Linked DNA regions of Homo sapiens: all the other regions are linked to region 2. The links are contacts of gene promoters, found by promoter capture Hi-C in blood cells and fetal thymus (Javierre and others, 2016). All regions are on one chromosome and are shown on one strand. The core of a region is centred on a gene start or on the middle of the fragment in contact, and the rest is flanking DNA. Distances in the headings are between cores, read along the strand shown.

Region 1 (3,208 bases), core at 639-3,138, 170 kb after region 2:
CTTAGAAGGCTGAACAGTAAGGAGCATTCCAATAGCTTCTGAAACTCCCAAGGCTGTTTCAAGTAGTCGAAAGCCATCCCTGGACTGTTCAGGTGCCTTTTCTATTTCCCACCTGAGCTCTCTGCCCTTTCTTTGAGCCTCACAGGTTTCCAGAATTACAGTACAACCTGTCCCTGGTCCCTAGACCCTTCCCAGCTCCAGGTCTTTTACCAGTGCCTCTGTCTGGATACTTCCTTTACCTGCTTTCAGCTCACAGGTCTCCTTCCCCAGTTCTGACCACTTTGGATCAGCTTCTGGTATTGGGCCCAGTCCTTCTCCCCAACTAGGCTGGCAGGTCCATGAAGGCAAGACCTTAAGTCATCTGGATCACTGCTATGTCCCCAAAACTCAACAGAGGGTACACATACAAATCCTTCAAATACAGTGACAGCCAATAACAGTAACATTCAACATCTGCTACACAAAGGAAATCTCAGAATTTTTATTAAATTCTAGGCCAGGCATGGTGATCACACCTGTAATCCCAGTCCAGGCAGAAGGATCACATGAGACCAAGGACCAGCCTGGGCAATAAAGTGAGACCCCACGTCTACAGAAAAATATTTCTCAAATGAGCCAGGCGTGGTGATGTGCCTGTAGTCTTGGCAACCGAAAGGCTGAGGTGGGAGGATCTCCAACTCAGGAGTTTAAGGCTGCAGTTCATTAGGATTGTGCTATTGCACTCCAGGGTAGGTGACAGCAAGATACTGTTTTTAAAAAAGAACCTTATAACTCAAAAAAAATTTTTTTAACTGACCCTGCAATGTAGATATTCTTTCTTTTAAAAGTAGTAGAGTTCAGAAGGGGCAGAAATCAGACTCTGGTTTCTTTCCATTCTGAGCCAAAGAAATTGAGAGTCCCAAAAAGGGAACAGAGGAACCCCTTTTACAAGCAAGCATTTAAACAGACCCAAATTCGGCCGCACACGGTGGCTGACGCCTGCAATCCCAGCACTTCGGGAGGCCGAGGCTGGTGGATCACCTGAGGTAATGAGTTCGAGACCACTCTGGCCAATATGGCGAAACCCCGTCTCTACTAAAAATACAAAAATTAGCCGGGCGTGGTGGTGCATGCCTGTAATCTCAGCTACTCAAGAGGCTGAGGCAGGAGAATCGCTTTAACCCGGGAGGCGAAGGTTGCAGTGATCCGAGATCGCGCCACTACACTCCAGCCTGGGCGACACAGCGAGACTCCCTCTCAAAACAAATAAATAAAATAAAAAATAGTCGGTGTCCCTTCACCCTTTGGGTCCCCCCGCCCCAGTGAGGTGAGCTTCCTAACATCCCAGTTCTCAAAGCAAACCCTTAATCTTCAACAACCCCATCTCAGCTTTTACATCTTCTGAACCCCAAGCCCAGCTCTATTGCCAAATACCCCACTGTTCTACACCCAACACAACTTCTAAACATCCCGTTGCTGATGCCAGCCCCCCCAGCTTTCAAGAGCTACAACATCTCTGTCTCCAAGAGTCCTCCATCCACTCAACGCCGGTGCCGGATCCCAGCACCTTGTACTGTAGCGTGCGCGGCTCAATCATCTCCAGGGGCCGCCCGTTCACCTTGATGAGACCATTGCCGCGTTTGCAGTGCGCCACAGCTGTCGCTGTCTTCTGTAAGATACAAGAGAAACAGGGGCCCCGTGAGCTCCGGCTCCAGCTCCCATGTTACCCCCTAGATTCCTGCCCACCGACCTCTCCCAGACCCTGGCCTTCTCCTTCCCCTCCCCTTCCCATCCGGCGTCTGGCTCACCTTGCGTCCGAAGACCTGCACAGACTGCAGCGGGCCCTTGGACGGCATGGCTCCGAGCGTGGACTAGACAACCTCACCGCGCGGCGCCGCAACCGGAAAAGGAAAGCTAGGGGCCACCCTGGCCGCTTTTCAGGGTCTGCGCAGGCGCCTTGAGCACTGCGTCGCGACGGGAGAGAGCTTTACGGCTTCTGTTGCGGCTAACGGGCGGGGCGTCTGGTCAGCGGCGGGAAGGCCCTTAGGCGCTCAGAGCGGGCGGGCCCTGTGAGGCGGAAGTGGCGGGCTCTGTGGGCGGAAGGGGCGGGGCCTGGGAGTGTCGTGTGCGGACTGAAGGGAAGGCTGCGGGAGTGTGCTTCGCGTCCTCTGTAGTCGACTACCGCAGCTCTTCTTTGCATTCTGGCTCTTTAATAATCTCCCTTCGCCCTTTCTTTAAATCAGTTCCCACCCTCCCAACACCTGTAATCTTTCTCCCCTCTGGACTCCCTCCTCCCCGAATCCCCCGCATCAGAATCTTCCTTTGGAATCTACTGCAAGAAATCTGGCTGGATTCTCAGATTAAGGACTTCCAGAATCCTATCCTCCCTAGAATCCCCCTCCTTGGGGATCCTCTCCCAGAATCCTTTTCCCCTCAGAGCCCCTTCCCCTCAGAATCTCCCTTTCACCAGAATGTCCTTCCTTTCAGTTTCCTCTTCCCAGAATGTTTCCCATCCTTCTCTCAGATGGCCAACCCCAAATGTCCCTCTTAAGAGTGCTCAACTTAGACCCCCCTTTTCCCTGAATCTCCCTCCATTCGGTCCTCGTCCCCTCAGTCACCCTTCCCAGAATCTTTCTCTTGTCAGGACCCAGTACCCCTGGAATCTCCCTCCTCCAGAATCTCCCTTTCCCGGCAAATCCCCCTTTCCCGGCAAATCCCCCTTTCCCAGAACACCCCGCCCCGCAAATCCACAAAAACTTTTCTCTCAGAGACCCGTCCCTCAAAATCTACCTTTCTCCTGAGTTTATTTCCCTTCCGAGACTCCTCTTCCCAGCAACTGCCTTCCCTGGAGTTTTCCCTCCGTTAGAATCCCCCTCTCCTAAGAGACCCTCCCCCAAGAATTAACCTCTTCCCCGTCCCCACCCTAGAATCTCTCTCTTTTTTTTGAGACGGAGTTTCGCTCGTTGCCCTGGCTAGAGTGCAGTGGTGCGATCTCGTCTCACTGCAACCTCCGCCTCCCGGGTTCAAGAGATTCTCCTGCCTTAGGCTCCCGAGTAGCTGGAATTACAGGCGTCTACCACCACGCCCTGGTCGTTTTTTGTATTTTTAGTAGAAATGGGGTTTCACCACGTTGGCCAGGCTGGTCTCGAACTCCTGACCTCAGGTGATGTGATCCGCCTCAGCCTCCCAGAGTCCTGGGATTACAGGCGTGAGCCACCACGCCCGGCCG
Region 2 (3,480 bases), core at 126-2,625:
TGTAATCCCAGCACTTTGGGAGGACGAGGAAGGTGGATCATGAGGTCAGGAGTTCAAGACTAGCCTGGCCAGCATGGTGAAACCCTGTCTCTACTAAAAATACAGAAATTAGCTGGGCATGGTGGCACATGCCTGTAATCCAAGCTACTCAAGAGGCTGAGGCAGGAGAATCACTTGAACCCAGGAGGCAGAGGTTGCAGTGAGCTGAGATGGTGCCTCTGCACTCCAGCCTGGGCAACAGAGCGAGACTCCATCTCTCTTGCTCACTCACTCTCTCTCATGCTCTCTCTCTCTCTCTCTCTCTCTCTCTCTCTCTATATATATATATATATATATATATACACACACATATATGCCTCTGGCCGGGCGCGGTGGCTCACGCCTATAATCCCAGAACTTTGGGAGGCCGAAGAAGGCAGATCACGAGGTCAGGAGTTCAAGACCAACCTGGCCAATATGGCAAAACCCCGTCTCTACTAAAAATACAAAAATTAGTTGGGCGTGGTGGTGCATGCCTATAGTCCTTTCTACTCGGGAGGCTGAAGCAGAAGAATCCCTTGAACCAAGGAGGTGGAGGTTGCAGTGAGTCGAGATCACGCTGCTGCACTCCAGCCTGGGCTACAGAGCAAGACTCCATCTCAAAAAAAAAAGAAAAAAGAAAGAAAGAAAGAAATCATGGCCTCTGGGCACAGTGGCTCATGCCTGCAACCCCAGCAATTTGGGAGGCCAAGACAGACAGATCACTTGACGTCAAGAGTTCGAGACCAGCCTGGCCAATTGGTGAACTGTCATCTCTACTAAAACCATAAAAATTAGCTGGGAATGGTGGCACAAATCTGTAATCTCAGCTACTTGGGAGGCTAAGGCAAGAGAATCGCTTGAACCCAGGAGGTGGAGGTTGCAGTTAGTCAAGATTTTGCACTGCACTCCAGCCTGGGTGACCGAACAAGACCCTGTCTCAAAATATATATATATATATATGCCAGGAGGGGTGGCTCAGGCCTGTAATCTCAGCACTTTAATAGGCTGGGTGAGGAGGATGGCTTGAGCCCAGGAGTTTGAGGCTGCAGTGAGCTGTGATCATGCCATTGCACTCCAGTGACAGAGTGAGACCCTGTCTTAAACAACAACAAAACCAGAGCAGGTGGAATCCTCCTGGGAACATACCTTCCTGTAGGTTACCCCTGAGTCTCCATCAGTTTCTCTTTCCCTCCAGCTGCTCATCTGGCTCACTAGCCCTGCCCTGCTCTGGGCTTTCCCAGCCTGGGGCTCCCCTGGTGGCCGGTGTCTTACCTGAGGCTGTGTTTTCACTTTTCCTACATCAGCTGGGACTGCCCTTCTGTCAGGGATAAAAGCTGCCCCATGGAGCTCAGGCAGGAATTACATCCCAGACAGAGCTCAAAACTGACAGAAAGAGTCAAAGCCAGGACACAGTCTGAGATCCAGAAGAGGGGACTGAAAAGAACAGAGACTCCAGACAAGACCCAAACAGACCCTGGGTGACAGCCTCAGAGTGTTTCTTCTGCTGACAAAGACCAGAGATCAGGAATGAAACTAGGTGAGTCCCACATCTCTGTCCGTGCTCAGCTCCTGCAGCCCCTGCCCTCAGTGGGCAGCCTCTCCATCCCCTCAGCTCCCTTTCTCTCTGTGACACAGACATGACTGGGGACTGCACGCCAGTGCTGGTGCTGATGGCCGCAGTGCTGACCGTGACTGGAGCAGTTCCTGTCGCCAGGCTCCACGGGGCTCTCCCGGATGCAAGGGGCTGCCACATAGCCCAGTTCAAGTCCCTGTCTCCACAGGAGCTGCAGGCCTTTAAGAGGGCCAAAGATGCCTTAGTGAGTCTCCCCCTGCCCTCCTGCCATGGACTAGCCTCCACCCCCACTCCAAGCGTCACCATGCTTTCCCACTCCCAGCTTCCTTCACTGGGCTAGCCTCCACCCTCCCTGCAGTGGGCTATCTCATGCTCCTACTGTAGGGACTGACTCATGTTTTCCTGTAGAAGAGGGTCCTCTACCATCCTCCCAGCAGTTAACCTCCCCTATCCTGTTGTCAGCCATCCTCCAATCCCACCAGGATGGTCTAACCTCCACCCCTCCTGCTGGGGCTAACCTGTGCCTTTGCTGTCTAGGAAGAGTCGCTTCTGCTGAAGGACTGCAGGTGCCACTCCCGCCTCTTCCCCAGGACCTGGGACCTGAGGCAGCTGCAGGTGAGAGGGGGAGTCAGGCCCACCCCTGCTCTCCCAGCCCCACTCACCTGGCTCTGTAGTGGCCCCTTCACCGTCTCTTTCTCCCTTGTCTCTCTCTCTTCTCCTCACACCTGCTCTCCCTTCCCTCCGCTCCCACCTGACCACACTGGCTGTGCCCTCTCCCCTGTGCCTGTCACCTTCACTTGTTCCTCTCTATCCTGCTCCCCAACCTGTTCCCCTCACCTCCCCCCTCACCTGCTCTTTCTCACCTCTCCTCAGGTGAGGGAGCGCCCCATGGCTTTGGAGGCTGAGCTGGCCCTGACGCTGAAGGTTCTGGAGGCCACCGCTGACACTGACCCAGCCCTGGTGGACGTCTTGGACCAGCCCCTTCACACCCTGCACCATATCCTCTCCCAGTTCCGGGCCTGTGTGAGTCGTTGGGGCCTGGGCACCCAGGTCTGTGAGCTCTGAGCAGCGTCCTTCCCCTTGCCAAGGCCCCGGCTCACACACCGCCCTCCTCTGCCCACAGATCCAGCCTCAGCCCACGGCAGGGCCCAGGACCCGGGGCCGCCTCCACCATTGGCTGTACCGGCTCCAGGAGGCCCCAAAAAAGGTGAGTGACCCGGGAAGAGAGGGACTGAGGTCTGGGGAGCCACTGGGAGCCCAGAACCCAGACAGCCCCTGACCCATCCCCTCCTCCCTACAGGAGTCCCCTGGCTGCCTCGAGGCCTCTGTCACCTTCAACCTCTTCCGCCTCCTCACGCGAGACCTGAATTGTGTTGCCAGTGGGGACCTGTGTGTCTGACCCTCCCACCAGTCATGCAACCTGAGATTTTATTTATAAATTAGCCACTTGTCTTAATTTATTGCCACCCAGTCGCTATTTATGTATTTGTGTGTGTAAATCCAACTCACCTCCAGGAAAATGTTTATTTTTCTACTTTTTATAACCCTTGTTGAAATAAACAAAGGAAAAGACACTCATGACGTTGGACTGTGTGTCTGTTGGTGTGTATTTCCTTTGTGTTGCTGCCATAACAACGCTAAAAGTAGCATCTTCCAAAGACACACTTGATGAGCTGGGAGTCTGCAGGTCAGAGGCTCGCTGGCCCTGGCTGGTTTCTCTCCTGTGGGACTCACAGGCTAGAATCCAAGCATTGCTGCTGGGCTCTTACTGGGAGCTCTGAAGAGAAACTCTTTCCAGGGTCAGTCACATTGTTGGCAGATCACTGTTCCTTGCTGCTGTAGGACTAAGGTTCCTGCCCCCTCCTGGCTATGGGTCCATCCTGAGC
Region 3 (3,409 bases), core at 499-2,998, 230 kb after region 2:
GATTATAGGCGTGAGCCGCTGTGCCCAGCCTGGTCTTCTTTCATTCATTAAAAAATTAACTGCGCAGGGATTAGTGGCTCATGCTTGTAATCCCAGCAATTTGGGAAGCCGAGGTGGGTGGACCACTTGAAGGTCAGGAGTTCGAGACCAGCCTGGCCAACATGGTGAAACCCCGTCTCTACTAAAAATATAAAAAATTAGCCGAGTGTGTTGGTGGGTGCCTGTAATCCCAGCTACTCTGGAGGCTGAGGCAGCAGAATCGCTTGAACCCGGGAGGTGGAGGTTGCAGTGAGCCAAGATCGCACCACTGCACTCCAGCCTGGGCAACAAGAGCAAAACTTCTTCTTCTGAAAAAAACAACAACAGCAACAACAAAAAACAGAGCGCCTACTGTATGCCTGGCTCTGCTGGGCTAGGCTTCGTTGGTTACTATATCTTACTTCTCTGGAAAAAGACATATAAATTGAACCTGTATTTTCCCCTATAATTATTAGCCTCTAAGCACTAAAGTTTTTTACTTTGGGGGGGAAAAAAAAGAAGTTACCCCAGCTCAAGGGTTTTGCCCCATGCCTGGCAGGGAGCAATTATGACCAGAGGGGCTGGGACATCTGCTCCTAATTGGCTTTTCCTGCTGAGGTCCTGGAATACTAAAGGGTTTCTGAAGGGCCCGGGATGTCCCCCCCCCCAGTTCTTCTGGGGTGGGGGAGCGGGTCCCTGTATGTGAAGACGGAATTTCCTGCCCATTTGCTCCTCACACCTTCCGGAGGCCAAACGGGCAGCCCAGCTGCGGCCCGAAGGGGGAGGGGCTCGGCCGCCCGGCAGATGGCGGCATTTACATACAGCTGGGAGCCCCCTCTTGAGGCCGAGCTCCTCGCCCTGGCGTCTGGTGCGTCCGCGATGCGGGGTTTGGGAGGGTGGCTTTGTCTTGCGGAGGGGGAACACACACACGCCTGCACACAGGGGTCCACAAAGAGCCCTGGATCTTCATCGTATCCACACACAGCTACACCCGTGGATCTCCCAAACCCAGTCTCATTCACACAAACCAGCGCACACAGGGGTCTACAAAGAACTCCGGATCTTCATCGTATTCACACGCGGCTGCATCCGTGGACCTCTCAAACCCAGTCTCATTCACACACAGGCGCCCTCAGCCATTCACCACCTTGCACAGCCTCTACCACACCCGCACAGAGCACAAAGTCACAGGTTTATACGCCTATACAGGATCTCCCATAAACACACACGCACAGAGAAGCAGCCACACAGCCACACAATCTCAAAGCGTCACACAATCACGAAGTCGTGTACACTTCTAGTGTCCCACTCGGGTGTGCGTGCAGAATCAGAATTGTTTACAACCTCATAAATGTGTCAATCACACACAACTCCAGGCGTATGCTGAGCCGCACAGTCCCACGTGGACTCACAATGACAAAGTCATGTGCACCCTCCGGTAGCTCTGGTTCATACCACACACACAAAATCTTAAAATCATGTACAACCTCACACACAGGCTTAGCCCCCTAACCCCACCCCACCCTAGCCACACAAAAAGTCGCGGGATCACCCACGCATGACCTCGCTCGTGCCCACGACCACAGACGGAATCTCGCTGTTGCTCCTGCACGCTCCCCCTCCCCTGTGACCGCCCCCCCCGCCCCGCCCTTGGTCCCTTGGGGCCGGGTAGCTGCCTGAAGGGGCGGGGCCATTCTCTCAGATATAAGGCTTGGAAGCCAGCAGCTGCGACTCCCGAGACCCCCCCACCAGAAGGCCATGGTCTCCCCACGGATGTCCGGGCTCCTCTCCCAGACTGTGATCCTAGCGCTCATTTTCCTCCCCCAGGTCAGAGCCAGGTGGGAGGTGGCGTGGAAAGGGATGAATGCGGAGGGGAGGGGTGAGTGCGACCTGAAGGTCCTGGGGAAGGAGCGTGGGGCGGACGGGAAGCCTGGGTCCTCCCGGCCGCCTCACCCTGCGCCCGTCTCCGTCCCAGACACGGCCCGCTGGCGTCTTCGAGCTGCAGATCCACTCTTTCGGGCCGGGTCCAGGCCCTGGGGCCCCGCGGTCCCCCTGCAGCGCCCGGCTCCCCTGCCGCCTCTTCTTCAGAGTCTGCCTGAAGCCTGGGCTCTCAGAGGAGGCCGCCGAGTCCCCGTGCGCCCTGGGCGCGGCGCTGAGTGCGCGCGGACCGGTCTACACCGAGCAGCCCGGAGCGCCCGCGCCTGATCTCCCACTGCCCGACGGCCTCTTGCAGGTGCCCTTCCGGGACGCCTGGCCTGTAAGTGCTGCCCCCGGGGGACTCCCGGTGCTGGAGGCCTAACCCTGCCAGCGAAACCTCCACCTCCTCTCCCCTCCAGCTTCCAAGACCCTAATCCTGCCTCCCAGGGGGTGGACGAAATTCCCAGACCAGTAACTCTACCGTCTGGAACCCCACATTCACAGACCTCTAAACTCTACACACTGGGGATTCTAAATGTTCTGATTCCCCAACCCTGGATGCTGGGACCCCAAATTCCCAGAATTTCAAACCCAAGCTCTGAAATCCTAAACTCAAGGAACCCTACCTCTGCTCCTTGGGGATCCCTAAAAACTGTGGTCCTCATCTTTATCCCCAAACCTCTCACACCTTGTCTTGGGGACCACTAATATCTTCTCTCTCTTTTTTTTTTTTTTTCTGTCCTCAGTTCTTTCAGTTGGGTCCTGTATTAATTACTCTTTCACCTCCAAAATCCTGTCTCCCACCCCCACAACCCAAAGGCACAAAGATGAACAGACCTGTATTGCAATGCTTGACCCTTGTCCTTTTGGACAAGTGACTGCCTGGTTTCCAGCCTCAGTTTCCTAAGCTTAAAAATGGGATCATCCTGGTACCTCACAAGGGTCCCTTTTGAGCGATTCAACCACATCTCTTGAATAAAGTGCTTACCACGTAGTAAGTGCTCAATAAAGCAAGCCACGTCCAGTCGCTCACACTGTAATTCCAGCACTTTGGGAGGTCTAGGCAGGAGGATCTCCTGAGCCCGGCAGTTTGAGACCAGTCTCAGTAACATAGTGAGACCTCGTTTCTAAAAAAAAAAAAAAAACATAGCAGGGCATGGTGACATGCGCGTGTAGTCCCAGCTACTGGGGAGGCTGAGGTGGGAGGATTGCTTGAGCCTCGGAGGTTGTTGCAGTGAGCCAAGATTGCGCCAGTGCACTCCAGCCTGGTTGACAAAGTGAGATTCTCCCCCCCCCCCCAAAAAAAAGCCACAGATGTCATTCCCTCCCTGGGCTGGTCTGGTCCCTCTGGGAATTGTCCCTTGCTTGCTCAGTCCCCAGCAATGGCCATCACCCTCCATTCCTGAACTCTGGCCTTCATTGAGTACTTACCCTAACCACTGTCTTTCATCTTTCATCTCCCCCTTCCTTCACC
Region 4 (3,512 bases), core at 730-3,229, 240 kb before region 2:
GAACTGTGAGTGTGTTTTTCACTTCACCTCCCTGAACTTCAGTTTCTTTTCTTTCTTTTTTTTTTCCAGGACTGAGTCTCACTCTGTCGTCCAGGCTGGAGTGTAGTGGTACAACCTCCACCTCCTGGGTTCAAGTGATTCTCCTGCCTCAGCCTCCCAAGTATGTGGGACTACAGGTGTGCACTACCAGGCCCGGCTAATTTTTTTTTTGTATTTTTAGTAGAGACGAGGTTTTGCCATGCTGGTTGGGCTGGTCTCGAACTCCTGACCTCAAGTGATCTGCCTGCCTCGACCCCCCAAAGTGCTGGGATTATAGGTGTGAGCCACCATGGCTGGCCTGAACTTCAGATTTTTTATCTGTAAGGAGGGGTTAGGAGGCCTAAATTAAGTCACCCATAAAAAGGCCATGTCACATGCAGTCAGTGCTTAGCAAGGGGCTATTTTAATCGTCACACTCACCAGTCAGAGACACAAATCTCAATCCTGCCACTATCCAGCAGTTCTGGCCACAGACCCTCCTCCTCTAGGTCCAAGACCTGCTTCTTGCAACACCAGCTGGGAATGCAGGAGACAGGGTAATGAGAACAGGCAGGCCTTTCTCAACAAGGGGCCGGACCTTTGGATAGCAGGGGCATTCACCTGAATGAAGTCACGAAGCACGTCTGAGAAGGGGCCCCAGGCACGGTTGTCCTGTTTTCCTCCACCACCCAGCCGTCCCCACCGTGTTGCACCATCCACTTTCGGAGGCCTTCTGTGAAATAAAAAAGGCTTGTGCCCAAGTTCCAGTCGCCCGCCTGTTGGTTCCTAGTGAGACCCCGCCCCTAGCCCCTCCCACGTGCTCACAGTGCAGCTCACTCACCTGACCCTTCCCACCGAGGCCCCGCCCCCTTCCCCTCCCACCAGCTCAGGGCAAAGCCCCGCTCCTCTGGCCCTTCTCACTGATTTGCAGCAAAGCCCTGCCCCTCCAACCCCTCTCTCGGGCTCCCAGAACTGCCCCACTCCCACCCCTCCCACAGGCAAACGGTGAAGCCCTGCCCAGTCAGCCCTGCACCCTGCGTGCCAATGCTGCCTCGTCCCTCCGACACCTCCCACCGGCTCCCAATGCTGCCCCGCCCCTCCGGCACCTCACACCGGCTCCCAATGCTGCCCCGCCTCTCCGACTCCTCCCACCGGTCCCACTGCGGCCCTGCCCCTGCGGCCCCTAGTACCGGTCCCAGTGCGGCCCCGCCCCTCCGGCCCCGCTACCGCTCCCACTGTGGCCCAGCATCCTGGACTTCCTCTTCCGAGATCCCACCTTGGCCGCAGGGGTTGCGAATAAGGTTGCGTCCGATGGGTCTGCGCGCGCAGAAGCGGCCCAGGGGGCAAGGCCTGGCGTTACGGGCGGGAGACTGGCAGCTGCGGGCGAGGTGCAGCAGCGCGCGGCCGGTGGCGCCGTGGTCGCGGGCCAGGATCAGCAGCCACAGGGCCTGGCCGTCCACCAGGGCTCGCCAGCCCCGGCACACTTGGCGGCAGCGCCCGAGCAGCGTGCGCGGGGGGACGTGGCTCAGCACCACCAGAAGCAGCTCTGGGGGTAGTTGGCTCAGGTCCAGCGCCTCTTCGGGTTCCGGCTCCGGCGCGGGGACCCGGGCGGCCCGGCCCCTGGAGACCGAGGCGCCCATGGTCCCCCCGCCAGGCCCGGCTGTGGCTGCGGGAGAGGAAGGGTCAAGGCGTCAGGGACCAGCAGCCTCCGCGGCGCGCAGCCTCTGCCTGCCCTGATTCTGCCAGCCGCACCCCCGTCTTCACCATCCCTGGGCCCCGTCCCCAAGTCCCCATCCCCCAGCCCGTCCTTGATAGCCCCGATATCCCGGAGACCCCGCGGTCTGTGTGTATGCCCCGAATTGCATGCAATCAGCCCCCCTCGGCGGCCGCACCGACACCGCACCCCAAGTCCTACCCCGGGGCCTGGCGGCGCTCCTCGCCGGGATGCCCTAGCTGTGCCGCAAGCTCCCCACGCCCCTCTGCGTCCTTTTTACTCGCCGGCCCCTCCCCTCTTACTAGCCAGCTTCACCCACCCCTGCATCCTCTTTCTTACTCGCCAGCCCCTCCCGCCTGCTCCCTCCCGCTCTCCAAACCCAACCTGCTTCCCGCGACGGGGCCAGGTGCAGCCAGGAGCCAAGGCCTGCTGCTCACAGCCGTCCCCTCCAGCCGGCCCCTTGAAGTGTCCCTAATTCGTTAGTAGCAATGAGACGTCTGGCTCTGAGCAACCATTGTTATTTTGGTCAGGCTTCTGAGTGGGAGGCCTCGTATCCGTTAACGTGTTAAAAAATTTCCATCACCTTTAAGGTCGGGCGTGGTTATCTTCATTTCACAGGAGAAAACAGGCTCCGGCTGCTAAAAATTAATGCAACCAATAGTAACACCAGCCAACTTTTATGGACGGTTTTACTGCCAGCCAGGGTGGCAACCCCATGAAGTAGGTGCTGTTATGCCCTTTACTTCACAGGTGAAAAAACTGAGACCAGCAGAGGCCAAGTGGCTTGTCTATGATCACCAGCTAGTAGGGATTTGAATCCAGCCAGCCTAGCTCCGGAATTCCTCATTTTAACCTCTAGATCAGCTCTGTCCAATAAAAATACAATTGTGGCTGGGTGCGGTGACTCATGCCCGTAATCCCAGCACTTTGGGAGGCCAAGGCAGGCGGATCGCTTGAGGTCAGAAGTTCGAGACCAGCCTGGCCAACATGGTGAAACCCCGTCTCTACTAAAAATACAAAAATTAGCTGGGCGTGGTAGCACGCGCCTGTAATCCCAGCTAATTTGGAGGCTTAGGCAGGAGAATTGCTTGAATCCGGGAGGGGGAGGTTGCAGTGAGCAGAGATTGCACCACTGCACTCCAGCCTGTGCAAAAGAGTGAGTGAGACTCCGTCTCAAAAAACAAACAGAAAAAAAAAATTGTGAAAGTTGATCATGTGAATTGGATCCTTCTTGTCATATCCAACTAAAACAAAGTTGAGAGGCCGGGGGGAAAACACTTAGGGCAGATACCATTGCTCCAAGAAAGTGATTCTCTGCAAGCCTGGCTGTTAAAACTGCCTGTTGTAACCTGGAAGCAGTCTAACTGGTACTGAAAAAACCTGCCGTGACTCTAAGACTAGTTTTTCCCTCTGCTGTCACTTACCAGTCAGAACTTGCCAGCTCCCCAGAACGTTGCTAGTGTCAATGAACTTTCTTGCAAAACAATACCTAACATTTCTGTTTCTTATAAAAACCTCTAACCTCTTTGTTCTTTGAAAGTTCTGAAGACCGCCTGGTCTGTGTGGATGCCTCGAATGTCAATTCTTGCTTCCCAAATAAAACATTTTATTATTTTTTTGAGACAGAGTCTCGCTCTGTCGCCCAGGCTGGAGGGCAGTGATGCAATCTCGTCTCACTGCAACCTCCGCCTCATGGGTTCAAGCGATTCTCCTGCCTCAGCCTCCCGAGTAGCTGGGATTACAGGCGCATGCCACCATGCCCAGCTAATTTTTGTATTTT

Evidence for each region. The method cuts DNA at HindIII sites, captures the fragments that hold promoters and counts their contacts. A CHiCAGO score of 5 or more calls a contact.
Region 1: the fragment with the promoter of RPS16 here is called in contact with the fragment with the promoter of IFNL2 in region 2 in 4 of 17 cell types (neutrophils, total B cells, erythroblasts and 1 more); the score reaches 21.7 in neutrophils.
Region 3: a contact is called between the fragment with the promoter of DLL3 here and the fragment with the promoter of IFNL2 in region 2, in 6 of 17 cell types (neutrophils, total B cells, monocytes and 3 more). The highest score is 20.4, in neutrophils.
Region 4: a contact is called between the fragment with the promoter of FBXO27 here and the fragment with the promoter of IFNL2 in region 2, in 14 of 17 cell types (total B cells, total CD4 T cells, activated CD4 T cells and 11 more). The highest score is 8.3, in total B cells.

Annotation. Positions count from the first base shown.
Region 1 is chr19:39,434,061-39,437,268 of GRCh38, forward strand. RPS16 (ribosomal protein S16) reads right to left here and starts at 1,889. Exons shown (of 5, transcript NM_001020.6): 1 at 1,788-1,889; 2 at 1,547-1,648. The coding sequence starts at 1,835. RefSeq lists an enhancer at 1,083-1,662 and a silencer at 2,043-2,142. The HindIII fragment of the contact is 27,347 bases long and covers 1-3,208 here.
Region 2 is chr19:39,267,021-39,270,500 of GRCh38, forward strand. IFNL2 (interferon lambda 2) reads left to right here and starts at 1,376. Exons shown (of 6, transcript NM_172138.2): 1 at 1,376-1,558; 2 at 1,657-1,838; 3 at 2,132-2,209; 4 at 2,468-2,617; 5 at 2,718-2,801; 6 at 2,895-3,168. The coding sequence starts at 1,549. The coding sequence ends at 2,993. The HindIII fragment of the contact is 23,103 bases long and covers 1-3,480 here.
Region 3 is chr19:39,497,199-39,500,607 of GRCh38, forward strand. DLL3 (delta like canonical Notch ligand 3) reads left to right here and starts at 1,749. Exons shown (of 9, transcript NM_203486.3): 1 at 1,749-1,845; 2 at 1,994-2,275. The coding sequence starts at 1,777. RefSeq lists an enhancer at 453-1,445 and a silencer at 1,069-1,128. The HindIII fragment of the contact is 3,955 bases long and covers 1-2,841 here.
Region 4 is chr19:39,030,570-39,034,081 of GRCh38, forward strand. FBXO27 (F-box protein 27) reads right to left here and starts at 1,980. Exons shown (of 6, transcript NM_178820.5): 1 at 1,934-1,980; 2 at 1,295-1,684; 3 at 640-751; 4 at 460-555. The coding sequence starts at 1,658. RefSeq lists enhancers at 559-668, 1,075-1,867 and silencers at 777-959, 809-1,048, 1,199-1,278, 1,479-1,628, 1,689-1,758. The HindIII fragment of the contact is 11,668 bases long and covers 1-3,512 here.